3 separate regions of the Homo sapiens genome follow, and all the other regions are linked to region 1. The links are contacts of gene promoters, found by promoter capture Hi-C in blood cells and fetal thymus (Javierre and others, 2016). All regions are on one chromosome and are shown on one strand. Each heading gives the region's core, a stretch centred on a gene start or on the middle of the fragment in contact. The rest is flanking DNA. Distances are from core to core; before and after follow the strand shown. Region 1 holds the start of RGS9 (regulator of G protein signaling 9). Region 2 has its middle 17 kb from the start of LRRC37A3. Region 3 overlaps LOC107985000 (a long non-coding RNA gene).

Region 1 (4,236 bases), core at 698-3,197:
AGTGTGTGTAGGAAAGCTGTCATGGAGGAGGGGAGACCGGGGTGGAAGATGGGGAGCTGGGATGCAGGAGGGGGAGGTTAGGGTAGAGGAGAGGTAAGTTAGGATGGAGGAGGAGAAGGCTGGGGAGGAGGAGGAGGATGGGGTAGAGGAAGGGGAAGACAGGGTGGAGGAAGAGGACCTGGGGTGGAGGAGGGAAAGGTGGGGTGGAGGGGGGAGAGCTGGGGTGGAGGAGGGGAGCTGGAATGGAGGAGGGAGAGGTTAGGGTGGAGGAAGGGAGACTAAGGTGGAGGAGGGAGAGTTTGGGTGGAGGAGGGGATGCTGGGGTGGAGGAGGGGATGCTGGGGTGGAGGAGGGGTGGCTGGGGAGGAGGAGGGAAGCCTGGGGTGGAGGAGAGAAACTAGAGACCAAGACACTAGTCAGAAGACCAAGGTAAGGAGAGGAGAATCTACCAGAGAAGAGTCATGATGGAAAAGAATGCCAGAGATTCAATAAACAAACTGAATTTATCTCTTGACAATTACCCTCTGAGCCCCCAAGCCAGAGCTGTCCTGCCTGGGAGGAGACAGTCCTAGGATAAATCCTGGAAGATGATGTGTGGCTTTGAGATAGCCGACTTAGGCAGTTTCTTCTGCTTTTAGTAACTGGTATCTGCAATACAGGCTCTCAGGGTTCTTTCTGAGTGAGACAACATTCAGCCTGTCTGCTTTACAGATGATACCCACACCTCTGCTACCCGGAAGATGAGCACGAGCATCTTGAAACAGGTGGACCAAATGCGACCGTCTCGGGGTCCCCAGGACTGTCCAGGTTTTAGCATTGAAAGTCCTGGGCAAATCAGGACAGCGGTCACTGACTATACAAATTTGCTGAGCTCCAGGGGCTCAGGGAGAGCTCAGCTTGTCACAAAACATTCAACTAATTCTACTCAACAAGATAAGCCTAAGAAGATGGACACTACGCTGTGAAAAGTGGCTACGGGTGGGAGGAAGGACAAAGATGTGACCCGGGACCTAATCCTCTGTAGATCTCATCGGACAGTGATTATACCAGAAGCTCAGAACTAAATGAACCACTTTGTCCCCAAACACATCACCCCACAGGTGCATTCCACCTCCCACATGTCCATCCTGTGTGCACACCCTGTGCCCGGTCACTTTGTCTGGGAAAGCATTCGCAAGGGAAGCGAAAAGGTTGGGACTTCTGCCGCCAGCGCAGACAGCAGGAGATGCACAGATAGACACACTCAAATGAGGGCTCTCAGGGCATTGTAAATGGGGTGGCCCTTTATCCTACAAATCACCCCGTTTTCATGGTCTATGTGTACACACACACACACTTTAAAATAGTGCAGTTTGGGATCAGAAAAAAAAGGCAAAAATGGCAATGTCACATCTGGTCGTCTTACAACAATATCAGCAGGCTGTCTCAAATCTGCCACAGCCTGAACTGAACCTGCCTCTCCCGAGTAACAGGTTGTTTTCACCTCCCGCAGACCATCAGCGCTGGCTTCAGATTCTCCACTACAGGCAGGGCACACGAAAACCTAATTATTATAGCCATCAATATCGACACACACAGCAAAGAAGTCACTTAATAAAATCGAGCAGCACAAATCGACCCAAAGGGGTGCTCTCCACTCCTGCCCCTCTTGTCCTCGGACGCTTCGCAGATGCGGTCCCCCGCCCTCCTCCCAGGGTCCAGGTGAGGGGCCAGGGTTACCTTTTGGAGAAATGCCATCCTCGGCCTGTACTGCTGGCCTTGGTGTCGGATTGTCATCCTGGCCCCTGGATGGATTCACAGCCAGAGCACCAGTGGGAGACAAGAGGAGAAGCCCCCCAAGTTCGAAAGGCAGCCTGGCTCGCCCCAGCCCTGGGCGTCGACGGGGAGGCGGCTGGGCGGGGAGGGCGCGGGCCGGGCCCCCCTGACTCTCACTAGGCGCCGCTGACTTGGAAAGCAGCTGGAATCCGCGCCAGCCAATCCGCGAGCGGCGCCGCGGGCTCATTAGCATGCGCTGCGCGGGCGCCCACCTGCCGCCAGGGGGCGCTATCCGGCCCCCGCCGGGACCCCGCGGAGCAGCAGGTGAGACCCGCAGGGCAGGGCCCCGGGAGGAGAAGGAGGAGGAGGACCTGGCGGGAGGAGGAGGAGGACCTAGCGGGAGGAGGAGGAGGACCTGTCGAGAGCAGCGAGCCTTTTAACTTGGGGCGGAGTTATGCACAGAAGTGACACAAAGAGCCCTCACTAATACAGCGCGGTGGAAAATACGGACTTTCCCATCCCAGCTCTGCCACTAACCAGCCGGCAGCCTTGGGCAAGTTCCTTACAATCTCTAAGAATCAATGTCCTTCACTCAAAAGTAAAAATTGAAAAATGGGATCATAATATCGACCAGAAAAGGTTGCTATACCATTTTAATGAGGAGATGTGTAACACAGTGCTTGGCCCTCAATAAATGCTTAGAAAAAAAAATTAGAGGTGGCGATTTAATGACCCAATAGCAGAGGAATTGCTAAGATGTGGGTTTAAAAAGAGAGAGCAAAGAAGTGAAGAAGGAAGAGAGGAAGGTTGTAGTCCTCACCGGGCTAGCTGTCTGGATGAAGCGAATTATATTTTACTTCTCTGATTCTTAGTGTTTCGGTTAGTTGGTTGTTGGGTTTGTTGTTGTTTAACTTTTTTTTTGAGACAGGGTCTTGCTCTGTCACCCAGGCTGGAGTGCAGTGGCGTAATCATGGCTCATTGCAGCTACAACCTCCCAGGCTCAAACAATCCTCCCACCTCAGCCTCCCCAGTAGCTGGGGCTACAGGCACGTGCCACCACACCCCGCTAATTTTTACAAAAATTGTTTGTGGAGAGGGAGTTTCACAAACTCCTGGGCTCAATCGATCTACCCACCTCGGCCTCCCAAAGTGCTGGAATTACAGGAGTGAGCCACTGCAGCTGGCTGGTTTGCTTGTTTTAATAGACTTTATTTCTTAGAGCAGTTTTAGGTTCACAGCACAATTGAGCGGAAGGTATAGGGACACGTCATATATCCCCTCTCCCCACGCACGCACAGCGTCCCCCATGATCAACATCCTCCACTGGAGTGGCCCATTTGTTACAATTGATGAACCTACCTTGACAGCTCATTATGTTAGCGTTTTCATCTTGAGAAAAATGCAAGGATGAAGCCTCTAAGTTATTATCAAGAGCCTTTCTGCTTTGTTATATAAAGCACTTTCTCTTAAACATACTCGATGGTTATTGAGTGTAGCAGATAAAATGTTTAAGTTGGAAGAAAACAAGAAGGCCTTTACCTTAGGAAGGCACAGTCAACCAATGTCCCTTTAAAGCAGTGGTTCTTGGCTGGGTGTGATGGCTCACGCCTATAATTCCAGCACTTTGGGAGGCCCAAGCGGGTGAATCACTTGAAGTCAGGAGTTCAAGACCAGCCTGGCCAACATGGCAAAACCCTATCTCTATTAAAAATACAGAAATCAATCAGCATGGTGGAGCAACCTGTAATCCCAGCTACTCAGGAGGCTGAGGCACAAGAATCACTTGAACCCAGAGGCTGCAGTGAGCCAAGACTGAGCCACTGCATTCCAGCCTGGGTGACAGAGTGAGACTCTGTCTCAAAAAAAAAAAAAAGCAGTGGTTCTTATCCATTCTCTCGGGTGATATTTACCTGTAAGAATCTGATGAAAGCTATGGACACTCAGGAACACACACACATGCACATGTACACAACACTGACTGAAGTTTGCAAACAATTTCAAGAGGTTCATGCTTGGGCCTCTCTTGTGCCTTTTCAGGAATCCCTGATTCAGAGCCTCCAATTTAGAGGACGCTGGACCCTGCAGAGATCCATCCAAGCAGAAGACCAGAGATCCTGCCAAGCAAATTGAACCACTGAGAAGTATGCTCCTGGTGTGAGCTGAGATCCAAAGAAAATGCTGGAATATCTTGATTTTTTTTCTCATGAAGCATCTTTTGAGCCTGGTGTGAGTTTAAATCCAAAGAAAATGCTGGAATATCTTGATTTTTTTTCTCATGAAGCATCTTTTGAGCCTAGTGTTATACAGAGCACATGCTGGGATCTGACCAAGATGAGCTATGAAGTTCCTTCCAGCTTCAACATCCCTTGTCTCTAGAAACCCTAAGCATCAAGAAGATAAGTGGCTTTCCTAAAATGAAGGATGAGAAAAATTATTCAGGAGCAAAGAGAGGCAAAAATAAAAGGCACTTTGCTCATTAAT
Region 2 (4,236 bases), core at 461-2,960, 200 kb after region 1:
ACCAGTTTTCCAACTTTGCTTTGTAGATATCCTGGTTCTAGAACTGAATGGAGCTTGGTGAATAATCAAGAAACTACACAGTCAGGTTCTTTGCAGAATTGCTTTTTCTGAGCTGAGACATGAGGTCATGCTGCTGGCCTTCATCATAATAATGCCACCTGAAGCAGCCCCATTAAACCTCCCTGGAGGTGTTTTGCAGGGTACCTGACTTGTCCTTCTAGATCCCATGTTCACAGAGCTACACACAAGAAATTTAAGAGCGAAGGGTTAGGAAAAAGCTTTGATTCCCTCAACATCTGGGTGGGTTTTATTATTTTTTCAACAACAAAGAGACATGCACCTGATAGCCCCTCTCTTTTCACCTTACCTAGCAGGAAAGTCAGAGCTAAATTTTCTTCAGCAACCACACCTTAGCACCTGTACATCATCTGCCCCCTAATTCCTCTCCATCTTGAGTCCCATCTCTAACTTGTTTTTTGTGGTCCTGGCTTTTCAGTGAATTTGCCAGTTCACCACGTGTGTTTCTGTTGTGATCTGCCTCAAACCTTCTAGGGACTGAGGTCAGGGTAAGAGTAGTTTAAAAACAAGATAAGACGTGGACAGTGAAGGGTGTGGCATTGGGAGTACCCATCCTGGGTCTTCTCTCCCTTCCTGTGGGGGTAACCTGGTAGTCTTGCCCACTGCCCCGGTTTATTCACTGGGGATGCAGTCCAGACAGAAATGGGGCTTTGGCTCAGGGACAGGGAAGGGCACCTGGGGAGAAAGAGGTTTCCCAACCAGGCCTGTCACAGTAAGCAGCCAAGGACACGGAGCCTCCTGTCTCTCTCAGGCTGGGACGAGGGCTGCCATTCTAGGCATGAGAATTTCCTCTTCCAGAGGCCCTACTCCTCACCACCCTCCAGGGCAAGGATTATTATTAACTCAGCTCCTGGAGGGGGAACTGCAGAATCTGTGATGCTAGAAACACAGGACAGGTCCCCTGGGGCGGGGATGCAGCTTTGGCCTTGAGCCCTGAGAATGGTAGCCCCAATTCTTCCCAGGTCCTCCTACTTGGGGCTTGCCTACAGTAAGGGTCCCAGAGCACTGCCAGCAACTGCACCAATATCACCTCTCTGGCTCTGGACTCTTACCTCTATTAATACAGCCAAAAGCTGCACTCAGTGTTGGCTCATAGGGAATTAAGGGTCAAAAACCCCCAGGTCATTTCCAGGTCACTAGTTTCAGAGGGCTGGCAGGCATCACTAAGCCCCTTCCCTCCTTCTCCCCACCCCCACCACTCACCTCCAGCACGTTCTTCTTACTGGATTTGTTTTAGGGGCCCAGCAGAGAGTGGTGCTCTTCAGCTCCACTGTGTAGTCGGGGGTAGAAAACTTGGAAGGCTGCCTCTGTGGGAGAGGGAGGAAGGTCACAGGGAGCCCTCGGCTCAGATGTGTCTGCTGTGGCACTCTGACTCCAGGAATAGGATGGGCATGGCCAGGAAACAACTCTGGGGAAAGAGCTCCAAGGGTTCCTGAACCCAGAGACCCTGATCTGTGAGGCCCAGAGGGAGGGGGCGTTAACCAAAGCAGTCCCTCCCTCATCTCAGCATGGTTGGGGAGGGGGCAGCGACCCTTGCCCTTAGAGGGAGAGTGGGTTTGGGAGTCAGATAAACTGGGTTCAGAGCTTGACTGTACCATTTACAAGCTGGGTGACCCTAGCCAAATCCCCTCATCTCCCTGAGCCTCAGTTTCCCCATCTGTAAAATGAAGATAGCCCCTCAGGTAAGTGAGGAGGTCATGTGGCACCTGGCCGGGCAGTGCTCATTGAACAGCGATTCCTTCCCATCCCTAATGCCTGGTGGTGCCCCCAGATCTGCAGGCAGGCCCTGAAGTTTCTGATGCAGATCTGGGCCCAGCCCCTCATCAACCTGCAGATGGCAAACGCATCTCTGTACGAGCATGTGGAGCGGATGCACCTCATCGGGAGGAGCTGGGAGCAGCTAAAGCTCCTGGGGGATTACCTGGGCCCGTGCTGGAGCGGTGCCCTGAAGGAGCTCAGGAGGAGGTGAGCACCCTTTACGTGCATGCACACGAACACACACACACACACACACGAACACACACACATACACATGAACACACACGAACACACACACATGAATACACACATACACATGCGCACACACACCCACACACATAAATGTACACACAAATGCACAGACTTGCACACACATGCACATGCACACAAATGTACACACATGCAGGCAGTCGTGCACACACACACACACACGGGGGCAGTGCCCAGGGCAAGGCGTCCACTTGGAGGAAACATGGGCAGAGATCTTCCCATTGGGCCTGGGAAATGATCACATCTTTTGGGGGTGATTTTGGGTTTTTTTTCACGTATCTATTTGTTCACTCAAAAACATGGACTGAGAACATACTAAGCACTGCACACCTGGCAAGGCATGTGGGCTCCAACACTGAGCAGGGCAGAGCCAGGGCCGACCCGCTGGAAGCCTCTGGCCTGGCAGGGAAGACAAGTGGGAAAGCCAGCAACTCCATCCGGGGGTGAGGGTGAGAGGGAGATAGGTTGGAAAGCCAGCAACTCCATCCGGGGGTGAGGGTGAGAGGGGAGATAGGTGGGAATGCCAGCAACTCCATCCGGGGGTGAGGGTGAGAGGGGAGATAGGTGGGAATGCCAGCAACTCCATCCGGGGGTGAGGGTGAGAGGGAGACAGGTGGGAAAACCAGCAACTCCATCCGGGGGTGAGGGTGAGAGGCAGGACGTCCTGGAAGCACAGAGGCTTACATCCAGCCCAGATCAGAGGAGGACAAGGCAGGAAGGACTTCCTGGAGGAAGTGACTTCTAAGGTGAGACCTGAAAAATGACGAATTAGAAAGGGGAAGCAAAGGGGAAAAGGGCGTTCCAGACAGAAGGAATAGCACGCACAGGCCATGAACTGTCGGTGGAAAGCACAGGGAGAACTTTGGCTACAGTGAGGAGGGAAGCGGGGAGTGTGGCGAGAGGCAGGCGAGGTCCAGATATTCCCACCTCTTCCCTGTCCAGCCAGTTGTCTGGCCCATGCCAGCCTCCCTCCTGAAATTCTCCAAAGAAGAGGTGATCAGGGCGGGGCCCTCAGGATGCCCTTTAGGAAGCTTCTCTTACCCAGGGCCTGGGGCCTTTGGTGCTCAGGAATGGGATGTGATGCTGGGCTTCAGCAGGGACTTAGGCCTCTCCATGTCTGTCATAAACGCTTCCTAGTCCTCAGGTCACAGCCCAGGCTACAGTCTTCCCAGGGCTGTGCTCTCCTGGCACCCTCAGGAGGGCAGACCTCAGGCGGAGAAGCCTGCCGGTGCCTTCTCCCCAGAATGGGCTTCGAGTCCACCTCTGCTGGGTTTCTAGGGTCAGGAACCAGTTCACAAGCCCCTCCAGGTTCCCCCATCTGGCCTTCCCTCCCCACAGGGCTGGCCTAGACAGTGCCTCTCTGAAGACTGCCTCCTCCATCCTGGCTGCAGTGCTCCCAGAGCCGGGCTTCCTGGGGGCCAGGGTGTGCCCCAGGCAGGTCCCCAGGGGCTCTCAAGGGGTGCTGCGGGGGCTCTCCCCTAGGCAAAGAGGAGAATCTGGCCCCACAGCTGCCAGCTGAGCCTTGGTCTCCTCTGCAGGGCCTGGAAGAACAGAAAGCCCTCCGGGGACCACCATGTGGGACCCTAGACCCTAGAAGGCTTCGCCCCAGGAGGCTCGCCCATCCCAAGCATCCGTGGGTGACTGGGTCTCCACCTTTTGGCCATGCTGACTCACTCCCTACCTCTGAGAGTCCATGACCCAGAGCTCCAGAGAGACTATCCTCCTGCCCACCTAACCAGGTGGCGAAATCTCTGGGGTCAGGTGGGGCCTTATCACCCTCCTTGGTCAAGGAGCCAGGTATCTGCACAGGCCTACAGACCTGTGTAGACCAGGTGCCTGTGGTATGGGTTGTGGGCCCCAGCCCCATTCACCCGTCCCCGCCCTGCTGAGAGTTTGTTCATGGGCTTTACAGACCTGTCTCTGTGGGCACCAGGGGCACCCCTGTCTCTCTCTCCCTGGCCCTCCTGCTCCATCCCTGGGCAGCAGCGCTGTACTCCTGCTATGCACTCAGCCTGCTTCCTGTGCCTGTGGAAGTCCCTTGGAAACAGCATGGGGCAGGGGAAAGAGTGTGGGAGGCCCTCACCCACTGTGAGTCAGGAAAGTTGCTTCACTTCTCCGGGTCCAGCTTTC
Region 3 (4,236 bases), core at 791-3,290, 180 kb after region 1:
GCTTTAAATATTTACTATCTGGACCTTTACAGAAAAAGTTTGCCAAACCCTGGCATGTAGAGTCTGTGCTGTTTACTTACAGGTTGCAACAGTTCTTGGAACGATTCTGTAACTGGTTGTAGTCTTTAACTATTTGCCGTTATGACTTTTGATAGGCTTACTCTGGCTACCATGATATCATTTCATTCATGTATTTTTCATTAATAATTAAATACCATCGCTGCTTTCATTCTTAATTCTTAGATGAAAACATGCTTCTTCATTTGATTATATTGTTTAATTTTTATTTCGCTCTCCTGTTATTCATTACTTAATATTTCCCTTGAATTATTTAGTCTTTTTCTAAGGTGCTGTAATTTGCATGAAAAACTCAACATAAAATAAAATTGTCCTGCTTTCAATGACCAGAAAAAATGATTTAAAAGTTCAGGCCACACACGATGGCTCACACCTGTAATCCGAGCACTTTGAGAGGCCGAGGCAGGTGGATCACCTGAGGTCAGGAGTTTGAGGCCAGCCTGGCCAACATGGTGAAACCCCATCTCTACTAAAAATACACAAAATTAGCCAGGCGTGGTGGCGGGCACCTGTAATCCCAGCTACTCGGGAGGCTCAGGCAGGAGAATCACTTGAACCTGGGAGGCTGCAGTGAGCTGAGATTGTGCCATTGCACTCCAGTCTGGGCAACAAGAGTGAAACTCCATCTCAAAAAAAAATACTAGTAAATATAAATAAATAAAAAGTTCAGTAGACACTTCTTGGGAAACTTTATGTGTCTCTAGTAGAGTTAAAAGGTTTTGCAGAAGATAAACGTTAAAAAATTATTTATTTGGAGTGAATCTTTGGTGAGTTTTTATAACTTTAATTGCATCAAATACTGAATGCTGTGAGAGTCAATAAAAAAATCTTATAACAGAAGAAAATCAGTATCTTTAAATAAAAAAGCCATAAATGTATTGCAAATCTAGAAGTACCAGAATGTCACTAATACAGAACAAATCAGCAATCTTGTTTTTATTTTCTTCCAAACATTTAAAACCTTGATTATTGACATACTGAAATTGGCATGCATTCTCTTTTCATGCAGGTAACAGAATAGACATGGAGCAGATCCCTCTGAAATCAGTTATAAATATTAAATTGTATTGAACATTCATAGTAAAAATACGTTGTAAAGTGCTGAAGTCATGTAAGTCTGCAAAACTGCCACAAGCTCAAAGTTCTTCTCAAGCAGTGGCAGAGATTTGCTATATCCACCTTGTTTTAGATTATGCCTGTTTTTGACAGACACTGTGTCATTTCCTCCCCCACCCTCCCCAAAGTTTTATAGATTGTCCTATTTCTATGGCTGGTAAGATGCTCTACAAAATGTAGCAGGTGGTGATGAACTATGCCACTTTCATTTCAGTGCAGAGAAATATTCAAGCTTGTGTGTACCTGTAACCAAACTAGGCTTGTTATGTTTTTCCCCCGAGTTGTCATAAATTAACATTAATGATGAGTAAAGATGGAGCAGCGAGCATTGACCGTCACCTGCAGGGTGAGATTGCAGTAAAATAGGTGAGTAAAAAGTCCACCTATTATCCTGACACTTGTCCTCTTTACAGAAAACTGTAACGTGAGCAATACTATACATGTAGTGTGACTCCAAAAATAAAAAATAAAACAAACAACAACAACAACAACAAAAAAACAATGACCAGTTACCCGATACCTCTGGCAACTTAGAACAATCAAGTTGTGAGTTATAGAAGATGTAAATTGCAACTTGTAACTCGCTATAACATAAATGTCTCTGTTACCCCCATGTGAAATACAGAAATGCTTCAACAATTAGATGGTTTTTTCTTTAAATCAGAAATGCTTTAACAGTTCAATGAAATATAATTCTGATCAAAGAAGTTCCTCAAGTATTCTTAGATGATAAAACAAATTATTTTTGAAAGCTAAGGTGATTTGCTATCCGTTATTTTTTCCCCTTTAAATAGCACATGTTGCCCTTAATCAAATGGAAGAATCATGACAACTTGGCCTTTTATGAAAGTATTTTTTACAAGATAAGACGTATTCTGTGAGGCATTTAAAGGACTGCAGAAAGGAGGTAAAAATGCTGCTTATGTCTCAGATTTTATTTCTTTTGATTAATCATCCTAGAATAACTTAATAATAAATAGCGGTTTAAATTAAAGACACTACAGTCACATATTTCTGTATAACTAAAAGCAACAGGAAACACATTTTTAAATGCCATTTTGTATATTCTGTACTGAAACACTTCTGGTAAGGACTGGCCATAAAAAGAAGTGGTAATCTTCACATTTATGAAGTTCAAGTTATATATGTACTTAAAATTTGCTTATTAGTAAAATGTTTGGTCTTAAACTATACTTCATTTCCAGCAAGCAGAAGCCATAATTTGTTAATGGGAACCTCAGTATTTTACAAAGGGTTTAACAAAAACCATTTATTCATATTTCTGAAAATTAGGAATTTTTTAAATGATTGAAGTCTTTTTTTTTTTTTTTGACTGGCCAATTTCATTTCAATGACCTGGGTTGGATGTTGTTTTATTCAAGATAGTAGTTTATTCTGACAAGACCATACGAAGAAAGAAAAGAAAGAAAGAAAATCATTTATCCCATGTGAAAGCTTTTAAAACCACTTTGCCAGTTCGTGTCACTATTTTAATATTGGAATGTGAACCAAAGAGTCTTTCTACATATCTTTTGTATTGCTACTGAATACAGCCAGATTTATATATGGAAGAGTGCTTGGTTGTTTTTTGTTTTGGCTTTAAAAACAAGCAAAAAGGAAAACTTAAAACAAAAGCGATGTTGGTAGTGCTCTTCACATACACATTCCCTTTAAAATGTAGTTTTGAAAGTGGAGTAGAGGGGTTAGCTCCTCTACCTCCTTGTGTCTCCGTTGGGCCCACCCCATCCCTCTCCAGCCAACACAGTGGCTGTTGTTGTAAGAAAGTGTGTCATACCGGCTCCATTTGCACGTGAACTCTGTGCTCATTTTTTGCAAGATCCATTTCCAGAAAGTCTTCAGGTATGTCCTGTAAAGTCTTCCCACGATGGCTCACTACCTTTGTTTCACCTGAGTGATGATGCTGGCACAGTCCCATCTTACACGGTCTCACCAGGGCGAGGCACACAGCAGCCAGGGCCATGCCAGCTGCGCAGGAGTAGAAGGCCCTGCTGTAGATCTTACTTTGGTCCACCAACAAACCTGGAAGAGAGCATGGCGTCCGTTAACAGCATCCTTCCTAGACATAAGCCCCTCACCCAGGCGACCATCCCATTCAGAAGCCTCTCAGTTTCATTGCCTTCCTTGTTTTCTTTTGTGTTTCTAAAGAAAAATGGGTGTTAAGGGCAGAAATCTTTACTAGACTGGAGAGGAGAAAGAGACAAACACCCAATATACTTGTTCTTCTTGGGCTAAGCCTGTCCTAGCAGAGGACCTAAAACCTGGGACATTTCGATGCATACTTCTTTGAAAAGGTAATATTCTTCGGTAGGAAGGAACTGTATTATTTTCACTTGAGTTCACTTTAGGTGTTTGTTTGTTTGTTTGTTTGTTTTGAGACTGAGTTTTATTCTTGTCGCCCCAGCTGGAGTGCGATGGCACGATCTTGGGTCACTGCAACCTCCGCCTCCCAGGTTCAAGCGATTCTCCCAGCTCAGCCTCCCGAATAGCTGGGATTACAGGCGCCTGCCACCATGCCCGGCTACTTTTCGTATTTTTAGTAGAGACGGGGTTTTGCCATGTTGACCAGGCTGGTCTGGAACTCCTGACCTCAAATGATCTGCCCGCCTCATCCTCCCAAAGTGTTGGGATTAGAGGCATTAGCCACTGCGCCTGGCCACTGTAGGTATCTTTTGACAGGGGGTACAATTTCTAATCACAACACTTTAAAGACCCATTTGGGATCTAAGCTATGAAACATACCTATGTCCCTCTTACAAGGAAACATTCTATACAAATCAATTAGGTATTTACAGAGTGCTGCTTTCTATTCCCAAATACCTTTCCTAAGAAGGGAAGATGACTTACAGAAGTCCGATATTTCTGTCATTCCAAAAGTCAGGTGGGCTCTGAAGGTGATAAATCCATGCGTTCCTGTCTAGCATGAGAGAAGGCAAGGTGACAGAAAAAGCCTGGGTCGACCGGGCACGGTGGCTCACACCTATAATCCCAGTACTTTGGGAAGCCGTGGCGGGCGGATCATGA

What was found. The method cuts DNA at HindIII sites, captures the fragments that hold promoters and counts their contacts. A CHiCAGO score of 5 or more calls a contact.
Region 2: a fragment that was not itself captured here is called in contact with the fragment with the promoter of RGS9 in region 1 in 2 of 17 cell types (naive B cells and total B cells); the score reaches 7.8 in naive B cells.
Region 3: a fragment that was not itself captured here is called in contact with the fragment with the promoter of RGS9 in region 1 in 4 of 17 cell types (naive B cells, total B cells, M0 macrophages and 1 more); the score reaches 7.6 in naive B cells.

What each region holds. Positions count from the first base shown.
Region 1 is chr17:65,135,081-65,139,316 of GRCh38, reverse strand. It overlaps RGS9 (regulator of G protein signaling 9), which reads right to left and starts at 1,947. Exons shown (of 19, transcript NM_003835.4): 1 at 1,720-1,947. The coding sequence starts at 1,776. RefSeq lists a silencer at 1,758-2,257. The HindIII fragment of the contact is 12,932 bases long and covers 1-4,236 here.
Region 2 is chr17:64,934,293-64,938,528 of GRCh38, reverse strand. No RefSeq gene overlaps it. Among named protein-coding and RNA genes, the nearest start is that of LRRC37A3, 17 kb to the right of the region's middle. The HindIII fragment of the contact is 2,859 bases long and covers 281-3,139 here.
Region 3 is chr17:64,955,297-64,959,532 of GRCh38, reverse strand. It overlaps LOC107985000 (a long non-coding RNA gene), which reads left to right. Exons shown (of 3, transcript XR_001752973.3): 1 at 1-2,341; 2 at 2,577-2,579. It also overlaps the pseudogene SLC16A6P1. Among named protein-coding and RNA genes, the nearest start is that of LRRC37A3, 38 kb to the right of the region's middle. The HindIII fragment of the contact is 1,223 bases long and covers 1,429-2,651 here.